4 separate regions of the Homo sapiens genome follow, and all the other regions are linked to region 1. Evidence: promoter capture Hi-C in 16 types of primary human blood cells and fetal thymus (Javierre and others, 2016). All regions are on one chromosome and are shown on one strand. Each heading gives the region's core, a stretch centred on a gene start or on the middle of the fragment in contact. The rest is flanking DNA. Distances are from core to core; before and after follow the strand shown. Region 1 holds the start of ACTG2 (actin gamma 2, smooth muscle). Region 2 overlaps BOLA3 (bolA family member 3). Region 3 overlaps TET3 (tet methylcytosine dioxygenase 3). Region 4 overlaps TET3 (tet methylcytosine dioxygenase 3).

Region 1 (3,754 bases), core at 385-2,884:
GGCCTTTACCCCTTTCGTGTACTTATTTGCTCCATGGTTCTCATCTGTTTATCTGTCTCTTCCAGTAACTGCAGAAGCCTCTCCACTGTCCCTAAGGAGCAGAGACAGTGCCTGGCCCATAATAAGTGCTCAATAAATGTTGGCAGAATGAACAAGGGGAAAGAGGAAAGATATCTCGCCCCAAGGTCATGATGTCACACGGCCCATCCCCTTTTCTCAGGCCTGGCATGTAGGATCTTACTGTTCATTGCAGTTTCTCCAGCACCCATCCCTCTCTGTCACAGGAAGCTCTTCCTCTTTTCAGCCCAAGGGTTAGTATCAGAGTCCAAACCCACATTCAAGTAATCAAAGTGAGCACTTAGAGCCTCCCTGTACAAAGTGTGGTCCCAGACCAGCAGCTTCAGTGTCGCCTGGGAGCTTGTTAGGAATTCCAAGTATCAGGCCATATCTCGGCCTACTGGAATCAGAATCTGGGGTGGGGCATGGGGCAATCTGTGTTTTAACAAGCACTCCAGGTGATTCTTAAAGTTTGAGAACTCAGGGCCGGGCCCTGACAGCCTTGAGCTGAGTGCTGTATATACGCATTCTCTCGTTTAATCCTCACACCATCGCCAAGTAGATATTATTATTCTTGCCCCCATTTTACAGGTGAGGAAGCTGAGGTCGCTCAGTAACTTGGTTAGCCTGACAGTCTGCCTTCAAGGCCTGCACTGCCACACCCAGCCTGCCTCACCTGTGAAGAGATGCTAGTGAATTCTGATGCCAAACATAGAAGTGGCCCCTTCATCTCATCTTCCTCTTAATTCTTTGTGCATGTGTTGTGTGTGTGTTGGGTGGGTTGGGGGGAGTAATGACATCTGCAAATGGGTCACAGTTGGGTGTGAGTCTTTTGGATGAGTGGCTGTACGTCTCTAGGCCTCAATGTCCTCATCAGAGGAGAATGAACTAGATGGGTCCCAAGTTCCTTCTACCCTGAAACCTCACGATGCCACAGGGCAAGTGGAATTTTCTCCATCCCCCAATGATCCTAGAGCCTTCAAGGACTGCAGAAACCCTCCATTCTCCTCAGCCAAGCACAGATCAGAGGACAGAGAGACCCACAGGGGACCTGAAGAAAATACCCTCCCATTCCCAGCACAGACATTTCATGGACTAAACAGCTCACAGACACCAGGACCACTGTTGGCTTTGACTCAAGTATTCTGAAAAGCTGCTTTTCTGCAAAGTATATGATCCCCTAAAACAGCCTCCCAGACATTCTAACCCAAGACAAAGGACATCAGGGTGTGGATCTGCACTGGCCCTGGGGAGCAGGGCTAGTAGAGACTGCAGGCATTATATCCCGCCAGTCCCCATTCTGAGGCAGGGAGCACGGTTCCAAGCTGCCCCTGCCCCAGGATGTCCCATGGCCAGATACGCCTTTTCTCAGCAGGCTGCAGTATGCTTGCAGGTGCCGCTGCCCACCAAGGGCTCTGGTGTGTGATCTGGGCCAGCGTCACAGAAGCCAGGCCAATCTGGAGGCACCTCCCGCACCCAGGAGGCCAGGCAGCCCCGGAAAGGAAGAGGTGGCAAAAGCCGTACAGTACTTACCGAGGGTATGAGAGGTTCTTCTCCCAGTGACTGAGGGCTGGTGTGTCTTTGGCATGAATACCAGAGCAATATAAAACCCCAGAGGCGGATCTTCTTTAAACAAAGTCCCTAAAAAGGCCAGCTGACGGTGTGTTAGCAATATTACCATATAAGGTGGTTTTTTCAATAAATCGCCTTGGGGGTAGGGAAGGGGGGTGGGTAGAGTGAGTTATCATTTGAAAAATGTATGCAAAAGGACTCAGTGGCAACAGCCCCGGTGCTGGTAGATTTGTTCCTTTTATGCTGCACTTGCATAAACAAAACTCACACCAGGCCTTATAAGCTGCCCAGAGTGAGACCAGATGCAGCTGTGCTCCTGGAGTGAGAACCATACCAAGAATGGCAGCGGGCCTCCTCCGTCCACACCTCCCTCCTCAGGCCCTGCTGCATGCGGCCCCTGGGTCTGCCTGGGACGCCCAGGCACTGTCCCCAAAATGGGTGCAATCATGCCTTGTCTGGCACGAGCCTGGGACCAATGAAAGCTGAAGAGAAATGCCTTCCGTACCCAGGAAAGAAATCCTGCGTGCCCTACTCACCTGCTGCACCTTGACACAAGCTCCTAACCCTTGGGCTGAGTTCTCTGAGGGTCTCAGGACACCTTAGGCTTCATTCTCTCTTGGCTCCTTCCTGGTTTTCCTTTAAATATCTCTAAATATCTGCAGACTGAGGGACCTGCTTCAGGGTTGAGGCACACCTAACAAGACTCTTGGCCTGTAGGATTTTCCACAGTCCTGTGATTCTTGAGCTGCTTCTTTTTCTTTTTTGAGATAGAGTCTCGCCCTATCCCCCAGGCTGGAGTGCATTGGTGCAATCTCGGCTCACTGCAACCTCCGCCTCCCAGGTTCAAACAATTCTCCTGCCTTAGCCTCCTGAGTAGCTGAGATTACAGGCACCTGCCACCATGCCCAGCTAATTTTTGTATTTTTAGTAGAGACAGGGTTTCACCATGTTGGCCAGGCTGGTCTCGAGCTCCTGACCTCGTGATCCACCTGCCTTGGCCTACAGGTGTGAGCCACTACGCCTGGACTTCTTTTTGTTTGTTTGTTTTGTTTTTAATTAGACAGGGTCTCGATCTTGAACTCCTGGATTCAAGCAATCCCTCCACCTTGGTCTCCCAAAGTGCTGGGATTACAGGTGTGAGCCACCATGGCTGGCTGATGATTGCTCTTCTTTGTGTAATTCATGTACTATCCCTAGGTAGCTGGTTCATTTCCCACATTATCAGCTACCAGCTCTGCAGTATTACTTTCAACTCCACATTCTCATGGTCCCCCTCCCTCACCCTGATCCAGACTAAAATGATCAATTGCCTATTGGACATCCCAATCCAGATGACTCTCCAGCTCTTCAAACTCATCCTGTCTAAAACTGAACCCTTCTTCCCTACCCTCAAAGCTGCTGTGCCTCCTGGGTTGCCAACTTCCAAGTCCACCCCTCGGCCCTTCAAGCTAGAAGTCAGTCAGTCTAGAACCCTGTGTCTCCCTCATGCTCCCACAACCACCTGGGCACCACAGCCTGGTGCTCCCCCGACCAGAAATGCCCCTCAGCTCTGTGTCCTCCCTCAATCCCTGCTGGCCTGCGCTGCCTCAGGCTCCAGTCCTATCTGGCCTGGAGTGGGGCGCAGCTTCCTGACTGGCCTTCCTGACTCTGCTTCGTCTTCAACACAGAGGTTCCCAAAGCATGGGGACCACCAGAGTGCAGCAGCAGCATGATATGGGAATGTGCTCACAATGCAGATTCTCAGGTGTCACCTAGCCCTATTGAAACAGAAACTCAGTGAATAGGCCTCAGCCATCTGTGTTTCTTAAACTTTCCCCACCCGGTGCCCAGGATACCCCCGCTTCAATAGAAGAAGCATGCATTGCATCCCTGCTAAACGCACAGGGAGTTCCAGGTGGTTTTGGGTCACCTGGTGCAATGGCTTGGTACAGGTCTGGCTTCCTCATTAACTGAAAATTGAGGCAGGAGATGGTGTGAATGAGGAGTGTCCTCTGCTGAGACAGCCCAGAGGAAAGATTTAAAAACACTTTCCTTGAGGACCTGCAGTTGTTCCCTGTGGAGAAGGAACACTGTTGTCATTGTGAGGTTCACTTACTCATCATTTGATCACTGGCCTGCGTGTTTA
Region 2 (3,754 bases), core at 900-3,399, 240 kb before region 1:
GAGTGGGTGAAGCCCAGAAGGTTCCTCTGTCCAGGGTCAGTCACATGAAGGTGTGACTGGGCCCTCACCCAGCCAAGGTGGATGTAAGGAGGAGAGGCTGGTTGTGGTCCAGGCACAGACACAGTCTCTAGGGAGCATTCCACGCCTGCAGAGAGCAAGTGGCCCAGGGACCTTCGCCCAGTGATTATATGAGGCTTTTTCCAGGGACATTTCTGCCTGTCCGCAGAGTTGAGGGCCCTGCACTTGATTGTGGAGCTGGAGGGTGTGCAGTGTAGGCCAAGTGGGGCAGCTCATTGTCCCCCAACACAACAGGAGCTCCCGGATCAGGGCAAGTCAGGAACATGATGGAAACCAGGTATGGCCAGGACCTCAGGATACCTGGGTTCATATCCTGATTCCATTACTCGCTTGTTTGCTGACTTTGGACAAGGAGTAGACTCTATTTTTTTTTTTTAATTAAATAAGGGGATGGGACTAGATTGTGTCTAAGGATCTATAAACCTGACCACATATATTAGGATTCTTTATATTGTAAGAGACAGAGACCAAATTAAAATTAGCATAAGCAAACAAAGGGAATTAATTGGCCCATGTAACAAAATTATCTGGTTTCTGGCATATCTAGATTCCTCTCTCTCTCTGAGCTTTCAGCTTCTTTCCCTGTGTTGGTCTCCTTTTCTCCTGCTAAAGATGGGCTTTCTCTCCTTGGTGGGAAACACAGTCCATGGCCACCTCCAATTAATTTCATAGCATGTTGGCCCAAGAAACAAGGCTCCACTCTCAGAAATCCCAAGGGAGATTCTAAGTGGCCCAATTTGGGTCATGTGCCACCTCGGTCCAATCATAGGCTGGGCCAGTGGCACATAATGACCTCAATATCAGACCAATTGGTGGTTCCACCAGAATTATACAATAGAGTGGAAAAGGAATTATTCCCCAAGAGAAGGAGATCACTAAAGAGACTAGAAAAGAAAAATGTCCACTCTAGTATGATTATCAGATTTTGGCCTAGTATAAAAGGACCTTATTTCTTCCTCTGTACTGATTATAAACTTGAGCGGTCCAAGCCCCACTCTGATTCTGTAACCTCACTTTCTCCCAGCACTACAGGGGCCAAATATCTATTTGACTCTGGTAGTTCCTTCAGATTTGGGCTCTGACACCATTTGTAGCCTTAAAACAAGTCCCATAATTCCTTTGAAACTTTATTTCCTGCTCTGACCATTGGGGAATTTGTGCTAATTGGTATGATTTTAAAGAACTGCTCATTTTAAAGAATGCTTGATGCTCGAAATAACAAAACACAGGAAACAGCCTAAAAGTTCGCTAGGGGACAGGTTGAAAAGTTATAATGCATTCATATAATGGAATACTATGCTGATGCAAAAAAGAATCAGGACACCCATATATGCCTAACATAGAAAGATCTCCAAGATAGATGTTTGGGGGAAGAGCAAAGTGTAGAGCAGGGGTGTCCAGTCCTTTGGCTTCCTTGGGCCACAATGGAAGAAGAATTCTCTTGGGCCACACATAAAATATACTAACACTAATGATAGCTGATGAGCTTTAAAAAAAATTTCAAAAAAAATCTCAAAATGTTTTATGAAAGTTTACGAATTTATATTAGGCCACATTCAAAGCTGTCATGGGCCGTGGGTTGGACAAGCTTGGTGTAATGTGTTTGAAATTTTAACCATTTGCGTTTTAAAAGGTCATGGGGTGAAATATATTAGCTTGAATATGCCTGGTGAATATGCATTTTTAAGTCCCTGTAAAGATACACAAGAAACTGGCCAGGTGCAGTGGCTCACGCTTGTAATTCCGGCACTTTGGGAAGCCAAGACAGGCAGATTGCTCCAGTCCAGGAGTTCAAGACCAGCCTAGGCAATATAGTGAGACCCTGCCTCTACAAAAAATAAAAAAATTAGCCAGGCATGGTGGCATGTGCCTGTAGTCCCAGCTACTAGGGAGGCTGAAGCAGGAAGATTGTTTGAGCCCAGGAGGTGGAGTTTGCAGTAAGCCGATATCGCGCCACTGCACTCCAACTTCGGCGCTAGAGCGAGACCATGACTTAAAAAAAAAAAAAAAAAAAGATACACAAGAAACTAACAACAGTTCTTTTGGGAACAAGGGTGGAAACTGGGGAGATGGACAGGTATAGGAGGGAGACTTCCCTGAATGCCTTTTTGTACCTTTGAATCTTTAAATCATGTTAGATATTATTGATTTAAAAAAAATTGTTTTTCAAAAAAAGGAAAAATTGCTTAAACAAAGCACATACAAAGTCTCCTTCAGATGCAGAGCTGTATAAAAATACTCTCAGAGAATTACTGTAATCAACGTCAAATACACAAAAACTGATGATGCTGTTTTCTTACTTAGGCACTAAAAGAAGAAATCAAAGAGATGCATGGATTGCGGATATTTACCTCTGTCCCCAAACGCTGACCACGCCCTGGCTGCATAGATGCTGCTGCTTAAGACCTTGGATGAACTTCACTGACATCATTCTTCCCTAAGCAGTCACCAAAAAATTTATATATTTTGCTCATATACATTTCCATATTATAATTATAGAAGATGTATAATCTATTTAGATGTTAATTAAAGGAAACAAACAACTGAAGCTTTTGAAGGGTCATTAGTAATGTTTCAGGTTCCTTTATTTTGGCCAAAGGGGTCTTGTCTTTAGACAGTTCTGTCCTGCTACAGAGAGAGAATGCAGTGCCAGCTTTTTGTCTTTTGAAGAGGTTTTCCTGTTTCTTCCCCTCCACGAAACTGCTCAGGCCTCTTCATCTTACTGAAACAAAGAAAAGATCCTTTACTATTGCTGTTCTTTTCGTTTATCATTCTTTTCTTCCCCCTCTAAACTTCTTACATGAATGATCTTGGACCCTCAATTTCTTATGCTCTGAAATGGACTCTGAAAATTTGGGGGTGCCAGGATCCGGGTTCTTTTCCTGTGTTTGAAGATCCTCCACCCTTTGATTCTTGGTAGGAGGCAGAGCCCACCTCCCACGACAGAAGCTGAAAAGGCTTACTTTCCCTGCCTCCCTCACAGCTGAGGCACAGGCAGATATTCCAGACTCAGCCAATCAGATGGACCTGCCCTGAACTTGGGAGCAAGTCACACCGAGGAGCAGGGACAGTGGGACATCCATTCCTGCTGCAGCCATGGCTACAACATCTGGTGTTCTGGATGGTGGTAGTGGCAGCTGATTGAGTACTATAAGCTGCTCTCTCTGGAGTCCATGGTGGTGGTCACGGTGTCTGGGTCTGCAGTGTGATTTGGGCTCCAGCCACGGAGGCTTCCTTGTCCCTGTTTTCAGCAGCTGGCTCGCCAGTTTTCTCAGACATCTTGTGACTGCCCCCACAGACTTTCACTAAATTATTTTCTGCTCCCATCAGCCAGCACCCATGTTACCATGGCAGTGGGAGGTTGACCATCCACTCCTCTCTCACACTCCTTTGCCTTTCATGGAACCGACCACCAGAGAAGTTAGGGGTCACTATTGGTTCTGAAGGTACCTCCCTAAGAAATGAGGACATGAAGATATAACAACCTTGGGCCCCAGATTTTTGAGGGCAGAAAAAAATTTCAAATATTCTGTTCATACATTGTGCCCCCGTTTTGTAATTTTAAAATATTCTCTATCTGCACAGTGGGGTTGGGAAGGATTGGTACCTGCCAGGGCAGAACTGCCTCTTACAAGCAGTAGAATCACTCAGTTGTATCAGAGCTGAGAAGGTTGGG
Region 3 (3,754 bases), core at 812-3,311, 170 kb before region 1:
CAAACTAAATCTTAGCAACTCCATCCCAATAGCTGGAAAACAAGATACGAAGATCTAAAACCAAGACAACCTAGAACTGGCTGGTCAGGTTTCCCTGGGAAGGCCACTAAAACACAAAGGGCAGAGAAAGCTTCAAGTGCCAAACAAAACCAAAGCCACTTTCAGCAGTTTACAGGGCAGCCCAAGGAGTCTCTTAAAAGCAGTTTCTTTTACTTATGTCTCCTCTCCTGAGTATAAGGGAAAAGATATTCTAGAGAAGAAATCTGACAACAAAGTTGCTGACTTACAACAAAGTTATCAAACTAGTATACATGTACAAATTTAATTATCCTCATATATGTTATATGAAGATATATATTACAGATACTATAATCTTCTGTGCATGCATATGTGTAACATATATATATACACTACCACCATCGATTTCTTGTTATGTAAATGTCTCATTTTCAAATAGTTTTCATTTTATATATTGAATAAATGTTATATACGGTACTTAAAGGATCCTGAGCTAGGAACTAAGATATTAAGTGTCTTATTAAGCATAACATAAAGGAGATACAAATATAAAAATCAAAGAAGTAAAACCTCTGTACTGTTAAGTCTGAATTATAAATATCATTATGAACTCGGGTCCTGTCCACTGGAGAAACATAAGAGCAATGACATTCTAGTAGCTGTAAGTACCCCTAGCTCTCTGGTTTTGATTTCTAAACACCATTATCCCTTAAAAGGAACCAGGTGGGCCAGGCGCGGTGGCTCACACCTGAAATCCCAGCACTTTGGGAGGCCAAGGCAGGCGGATCACGAGGTCAGGAGATCGAGACCATTTTGGCTACCACAGTGAAACCCCATCTCTACTAAAAATACAAAAAATTAGCTGGCATGGTGGCGGGTGCCTGTAGTCCCAGCTACTCAGGAGGCTGAGGCAGGAGAATCACTTGAACCTGGGAGGCGGAGGTTGCAGTGAGCTGAGGTCGCACCACTGCACTCCAGCCTTGAGACAGAGCCTCGCTCTGTCTAAAAAAAGAAAAAACAAAAGAGAAGAGAAGAGGAAAGGAAAGAAAGGGAAAGAAAAGGAAAGAAGGAAAGAAAGAAAGAAAAAGAAAGAAGAAAAGAAAGGGAAAGAAAGAAAGAAAAAAGAAAAGAAGAGAGAGAAAGAGAAGGAAGGAAGGAAGGACGGACGGACGGACGGACGGAAGGAAGGACGGACGAACCAGGTGACCAAGCCAAAAAAAAAAAAAACAAAAAAAAGAAATCAGGTGGTCTTGGAGAAATGGTTAATTCAAGGTCTGAGGCAGGAAAAGGATGATGTGCCCTGGATATTTCTTGTTGAACAAAAAGCAAAGAAATGATCAAAGAATGATCTGGGGTGAGGTATGTCCAAAGACCACAGGAGCTGGCCTGAAGGGGCATCCCACTGGCCAAATTTGGGACAATCTGAGCAAGAAGAATGACTGTAACTAAAACTCATTAAATATATAAATATTCATTAGTCCATAATGATGCTCAAAAAAGAGAAAAGAGGAAAAAATAACAAACACTCCTTTGTCCTTGAAGGTGACTATTCACTTCATTTTCATTTTAACTGCTATAATATGCATAATTTCTATGAGTTACCATTAAAAGATAAACCTTGTCACTTAAACCATGGCAATACTATACATAATCACTTTCACTTTTTATCTCATATTCATTGAAAAAGCTTTTAGACTTGCTTAGATGGATCTATCACTATATATACATAAAAAGAAAAATATAAGCTAAATGCAGTAAATGAGTTGCATGTTTTACAAGAATACAGTTGACTCTTGAACAACATGGAGGTTGGGGCACTAACTCCCAGTGTGGTTGAAAACCTGCATATATCTGTTGACTTCTCTGAAACTTTACTAATAGCCTACTGTTGACTGGAAGTCTTACTGATAACAGATAATTAACACATAGACTAGTATCTACATATATTTTATGTATTTGTGACATATTTACCATTTATTAATAAATTTTTTCAATATTTCTAGGCTATGCATTTTGTCAGTTTTTTCAAATTTTTTACAAATCTCCAAAAAGCGTTCCAGTATATTTATTGAAAAAAAAATCTGGGCCAGCTGTGGTGGCTCATGCCTATAATCTCAGTACTTTGGGAGGCTGTGGTGGGCAGATTGCTTGAGCCCAGCCTGGGCAACATGGTGAAACCCCACCTCTACCAAAAAACAAATAAACAAACAAAAATTAGGCAGGCGTGGTGGCACGCACGCCTGTAGTCCCAGCTACTCAAACGGCTGAGGTGGGAGGATCACTTGAGCCTGGGAGGCAGAGGTTGTAGTGAGTGGGAATCACACCACCGAACTCCAGCCTGGGAGACAGAGTAAGACCTTGTCTCAAAAAAAATAAAAAAGAAATGCTCAGAAGCTTAGTTTCCATGTTTCTACACACAATAACTTTGTTTCAATACTGAATCACACTGTACTCTTTTTGAAGACAATTTAAACAGTATTTAATCTTAACACACATAATACTAACAATATTCATAACTCACCGAGATAACAATATGAAAAGCTATGACCAAATTCATGCGTGTATACGGGTGCCATAATGGCTGCCTGGCCAACAACTAGTATAAGACATCATTGATTATAAGCTATATCCCGACTTCAGAGAGCTTTGAGATGCTTTTTAAGTAGTATAAAGCCACATATGCTCACACTTCTTCCAACTGATGAAATGTGATATTAAGCCAACTCTTATATTCTGACAATTGGTAATTAAGGGGAAAATTATGCATTATCCTGGCTTTCTTACTTAGAAAGTAATCAAATGAAGAACAGCACTTTTTTTGGTAAGAACTCTAAAGATAAGATCTACCCTTCTTTCAGAATCTATTTTACTTATTTTTTTTTTTTTTTTGTCTGCAGAGATGGGCTTTGTTGCCCAGGGTGGTCTCAAACTCCTGGGTTCAAGTGATCCTCCCACTTCGGCCTCCCAAAGTGCTGGGATTGCAGGCAGAGGTATTGCACCAGGCCAGATCTGCCCTCTTAAACTTTTAACTGCACAATATGGTATGTTTAGTATGCTGTACAGCAGATCTCTAGAACTTACGCATCTTGCATAACTGTAACTTTATACCCACTGAACAACTCATCTCCCCCTCCCCCATCCCTTAGCAATCACATTCTATTTGCTACTTCTATAAGTCTATTTTACAAAAACTCATATAAGTGGAATCATGCAGCATTTGTCCTTCTGTGACTGAATTATTGAGCATCTTTCAGGTTTTGTAAGGTATTAAACGTAAAAAAAGGATGGACAGAATTAGAATATCATCAGTTTGCAATCCCTAATGAAAAATTAACTTACACAAGGATCATCAGTAGACATGATATGACTAAAGATTGATGGGGAACTGGATAATCACATGGTGGTGAAGTATTGCCTGACAAATTATTTGCTGGACACAAAGGGGAAAACATAACTTTATAATGGCAAGACCTGGCTCTTGCTCTTACCACCTTAACCTAGTGACACCTGGGCTTCACCAACGGTGGGACAATTAGACTTCTCAAAGTGATCTTACATGAGAAGCCTGGCATACTCCATTAAAAAAAAAAAAAGTTTCAGGCCAGGCATGGTGGCTCAGGCCTGTAATCCCAACACTTTGGGAAGCTGAGGTGGGTAGATCACTTGAGGTCAGGAGTTAGAGACCAGCCTGGTCAACATGGTGAAACCTCATCTCTGCTAAAAATACAAAAATTAG
Region 4 (3,754 bases), core at 745-3,244, 150 kb before region 1:
CTGGGGAGATCTGAAAGGGGCAGGAGGTGACAAGGCCTCAGGAAGGGGGCAAGAAGCCTGGGGGGTGGAATGAGAAGGCTGCGGGAGGGCAGAGGAGAGCTGTGTGAGGGCCTCAATGGCAATGGCGGTCTGCAAGCTGATGTTTTTTTCCTTGGCAATGCTCAGGGCACTCTGGGACAGGGGCAGGCCCTCTTGGGGAGAGATCTGGGGCACCTCTGAGCTGAGGAGTGGCCTGGTGCTTGGTGCTGGGAGGCCGGCCTCACCAGGAGGCAGAGGCCCTGGGAGCCTGGGCCGCTCCTCCCCTCCTTCCATGACCACAGACTTGATCTTCCCCTCCAGCCACTCGAGGTAGTCAGGGCATTCTGGGCCATCGCAGTTGCAGTTGGGTGGTTTCATACCATGCCGCGCGAGGGCCAGGGCCGTCTGCAGTGTGTCAAGGTCTTCGCTGCCAGCAGAGCAGCCCTCAGGCCCTGGCCGGGGTCCCCTGCTGTTGTTCCCAGCCTCACGACTCATCTCACGGTTGAAGGTTTCATAGAGCCGGGTGCTAAGGGCCCCATAAGAGGACACAGCTTCGGCCACAGCCGAAAAGGCCACCAGATCGTGGGCATCTTCCAGGCGAGCAGTATGAGCTGGGCCTGGGGCAGCCTCCCAGTCGGGCTTTTGGTCTACCCGCCAAGGACCCCCAGTCCCCAGCAGACTGGGTCCAGCGGGCTCTCTAGCACCATTGACCGGCACCCCTGAGGCGCTTAGCTGCCGTGAGTCCCCATGGTACACTGGCCCTGAGTCCATCTGACCTGGAACAGGTCCATCAACTGGGCTGAGCTCTGAGCCTGTCTAAAGAGAGAGAGAAGGGGGAAAAAGGAAAAAAATGAACCACACTATTTGAAAAGCATTTCCCTGCTTCATACCACTCAGGTGCACATCTGACCCCAACTTTTCTTGCAAATCCTCTCTCTGGTACTTCTTGAGCCTCCAATTCATCTTCCCATGTCTCTGGTTCCCTAGGGAGCTTCACCAGCAGAAACAAAAAGAAGATCTTTAAGATATTTTTAAAGAGAAGATCCTAATGAGACATTCTTAATGTTGCTCAGAAACTTTTAGAGCCTCAGATCAATCACACAAATGAGGCTCTCCTAAAACCAGAGACACACAAAAAGGTCCTTAATTCACAATGATCAAAGTCACACTAGGACTTTATTTTGTTTTTTGTCAAGATGGAAAGAAATCCAACCAAGCCTGTGTGTACACACGTGCTCTAAGTGTGAAGTGTGGGTTCGTAGGGGTAGGGAAAGAGGAGCTTTGATGAACAAATTCAGCCTGGACCATGGGTCAGCCATGGCTTCCTAGTGGGGACCCATAGTTCTTTTCTCCCCCTAAAACTGTCCTCACTTAAGCCCAGGCTGAGCACAGAAAGCTGGCAACAGACCACATTCCCACACACAGCCCCAGGCCTGAGGGAAACGCCGATGATCTGACACAGCATGCGTTTAGCCCCATGCCAGGTCAGTCCTGCCAAAGACAAGCAAGTTGCTGCTTAGAGAAGGATTCAGGCCTCTCCCCAAGCACGAGAGCCACCACCATATACCTCATATCCCCAAAAGCACACCAAAGGGGAAGGATGAGAGGAAGAGAAAAGTGAATACAAAGATGTGAAATTGAGTTTGCAGACCCATCCCTTAGGAAAGGAAAGCTCTTCCTTACTGTAGAATGCTAAGAGAAAACACAGAAGGACTGATGGATTTAAAAAGACATCAGTGGCAGCAGGTGAAAGCATGATGAGGTACAGGATGTATACACGGTCTCAAAGCATCTCTAAAATTACATAATTACAATAGTAACTGTAGTGGAGAGATCTGGTAGACAGACACCACCTTAACCCAAATGACCAAAGTTACAATCATCACCAATACTGAGACAAAACAACACCATGTGCCTCTTGATGTAAGACATTGCGGATGACTTAACACCACTCACATAGAACTCCTGCCAAAATGTATAACCTGAATCTAATCACAAGGAAACATCAGACAAACCCAAATTGAAGGGCGTTCTAGAAAGTACCTGTATTGTTTTTCTTGACTTTGAAATTTTTTGAAGAGAACAATCTCTTCCCTTAAAAAGAACAGCTAAATGCGTGTTCATGGCTTAGACCTTAGACTGGGGAAAAGCACACTATTTTTACTTGGGACAAGTCATGAAATGTGAATATGGATGTGGATAAGATAATATTCTGTCATCCCTAATCTTGACTTGGATCATTAGACAATGGGTTATGTAAGAGAATGCCCTTGTTCTCAGGATACACATACTGAAGTATTTAGGAGTAAAGGGACAGTACAGACAGTCCCCAACTTACGATGGTTCCACTTAAGATTCTGACTTTGCGACAGGCGTTCAATAGAAACCATACTTTGAATTTTGATCTTTTCTGAGGCTAGCAACACTTTCGCGATGCTGGGCAGTGGCAGCAAGCCAGATCCCCTGGTCAACCACGCCATCACCAAGGTAAACGACTGAGGCTCCACAGTGTTCCATGCTGTTAGGGCTTTCTGGATATTGTGTTCTGTGTTTTAGCAACCCATCATGTCTATAAAATGCCTATTTTTGACTTACAATACTTTCAATTGATGATTAGTTTATTGGGACGTAACTCAGTCATAAGTTGAGGAACATCATGTACTCAATTTAATCTCAAATGATTCAGAAAAAAACCATATGCATATGGAAAAATATGTCTATACAGACAAGATGATAAATACATGAGACAAAACCTACACATTTGGGGTATGTGAAGTCCCAAGTATGATCCCTGCTATTTTTCTATAAATTTTTAAATTCTGTGAAAATAAAAAGCTAAATAAGAAATCAGTCCCTCAAGTATAACACAAAGTGTTTTATTTATTTATTTTACAGACACACTCTCACCCAGGCTGGAGTTCAGTGGCATGATCATAGTTCACTGCAGCCTTGAACTCCTGCAGTGGTGTGATCACAGTTCACTGCAGCCTTGAACTCCTGGACTCAAGCGATCCTCCCACCTCAGCCTATCAAGTAGCTAGGACTTGATGCATGTACCACGCCCAGCTAATTTATTTTATTTTTATTTTTTTTAATTTTAGAGCCTGAGTCTTGCTGTGTTGCCCAGGCTGATCTCTAACTTCTGGCCTCAAATGATCCTCTGGCCTTAGCCTCCTAAAGTGTTGGGATTATAGGTGTGAGACACTGTGTCTGGCCTCAAAGTGTTTTAAGTAGGTGGCTAAAAAGATGCCAGTGCTAAGACTGTCAGACAAGGCCATCATGGGCTCCTAAGTGTGGTGGGAAACTAGGGTTTGGGATGAGCTCTGTGGGAGGTTAGCAGAGGCCCCAGCCCGCAGTTCCTGTCTCATCCTCACCCTTGCCCCCATTCTGGCCACAAAAGACCCTCATGCTTTTCTAACAGGCCATGTTCTCTGATGTCACCAGGCTTTGTACACGCAGTTCTCATTGCCTGGAATGCCCTTCTCAGCCTCTTAGAGCGGCCTCCCTGGCTTATCAGCTCAGTGTCACCTCTTCCCCTACCTACTACATAGAATTATCTGTGGCTCCTTCCCTGGATTCCCAGGGCACCTTCATTAGCACTTATCGCATGCCACTACTGTTATTTGTTCAAGCAGCTGCCTCCCTCCCCCACTTGATGGTGGCTCCAGGCAGGCAGGGTCCAAATCTCAATGACTCCTGTGCTTCCTGCCCACAGCTGGAGCAGTAACACTCAGGC

Evidence for each region. The method cuts DNA at HindIII sites, captures the fragments that hold promoters and counts their contacts. A CHiCAGO score of 5 or more calls a contact.
Region 2: a fragment that was not itself captured here is called in contact with the fragment with the promoter of ACTG2 in region 1 in 9 of 17 cell types (activated CD4 T cells, naive B cells, total CD4 T cells and 6 more); the score reaches 12.4 in activated CD4 T cells.
Region 3: a contact is called between a fragment that was not itself captured here and the fragment with the promoter of ACTG2 in region 1, in 4 of 17 cell types (activated CD4 T cells, naive CD4 T cells, naive CD8 T cells and 1 more). The highest score is 5.8, in activated CD4 T cells.
Region 4: a contact is called between a fragment that was not itself captured here and the fragment with the promoter of ACTG2 in region 1, in 2 of 17 cell types (activated CD4 T cells and naive CD8 T cells). The highest score is 8.8, in activated CD4 T cells.

The regions. Positions count from the first base shown.
Region 1 is chr2:73,890,888-73,894,641 of GRCh38, reverse strand. It overlaps ACTG2 (actin gamma 2, smooth muscle), which reads right to left and starts at 1,634. Exons shown (of 9, transcript NM_001615.4): 1 at 1,591-1,634. RefSeq lists an enhancer at 1,745-2,558. The HindIII fragment of the contact is 3,877 bases long and covers 1-3,754 here.
Region 2 is chr2:74,134,287-74,138,040 of GRCh38, reverse strand. It overlaps BOLA3 (bolA family member 3), which reads left to right. Exons shown (of 4, transcript NM_212552.3): 4 at 2,383-2,641. The coding sequence ends at 2,448. It also overlaps a transcript of TET3 not described here. Among named protein-coding and RNA genes, the nearest start is that of BOLA3, 12 kb to the left of the region's middle. The HindIII fragment of the contact is 961 bases long and covers 1,669-2,629 here.
Region 3 is chr2:74,063,047-74,066,800 of GRCh38, reverse strand. All of the region lies in intron 4 of TET3 (tet methylcytosine dioxygenase 3), which reads right to left. Among named protein-coding and RNA genes, the nearest start is that of TET3, 80 kb to the right of the region's middle. The HindIII fragment of the contact is 707 bases long and covers 1,708-2,414 here.
Region 4 is chr2:74,043,358-74,047,111 of GRCh38, reverse strand. It overlaps TET3 (tet methylcytosine dioxygenase 3), which reads right to left. Exons shown (of 12, transcript NM_001287491.2): 4 at 1-834. Among named protein-coding and RNA genes, the nearest start is that of TET3, 60 kb to the right of the region's middle. The HindIII fragment of the contact is 7,830 bases long and covers 1-3,754 here.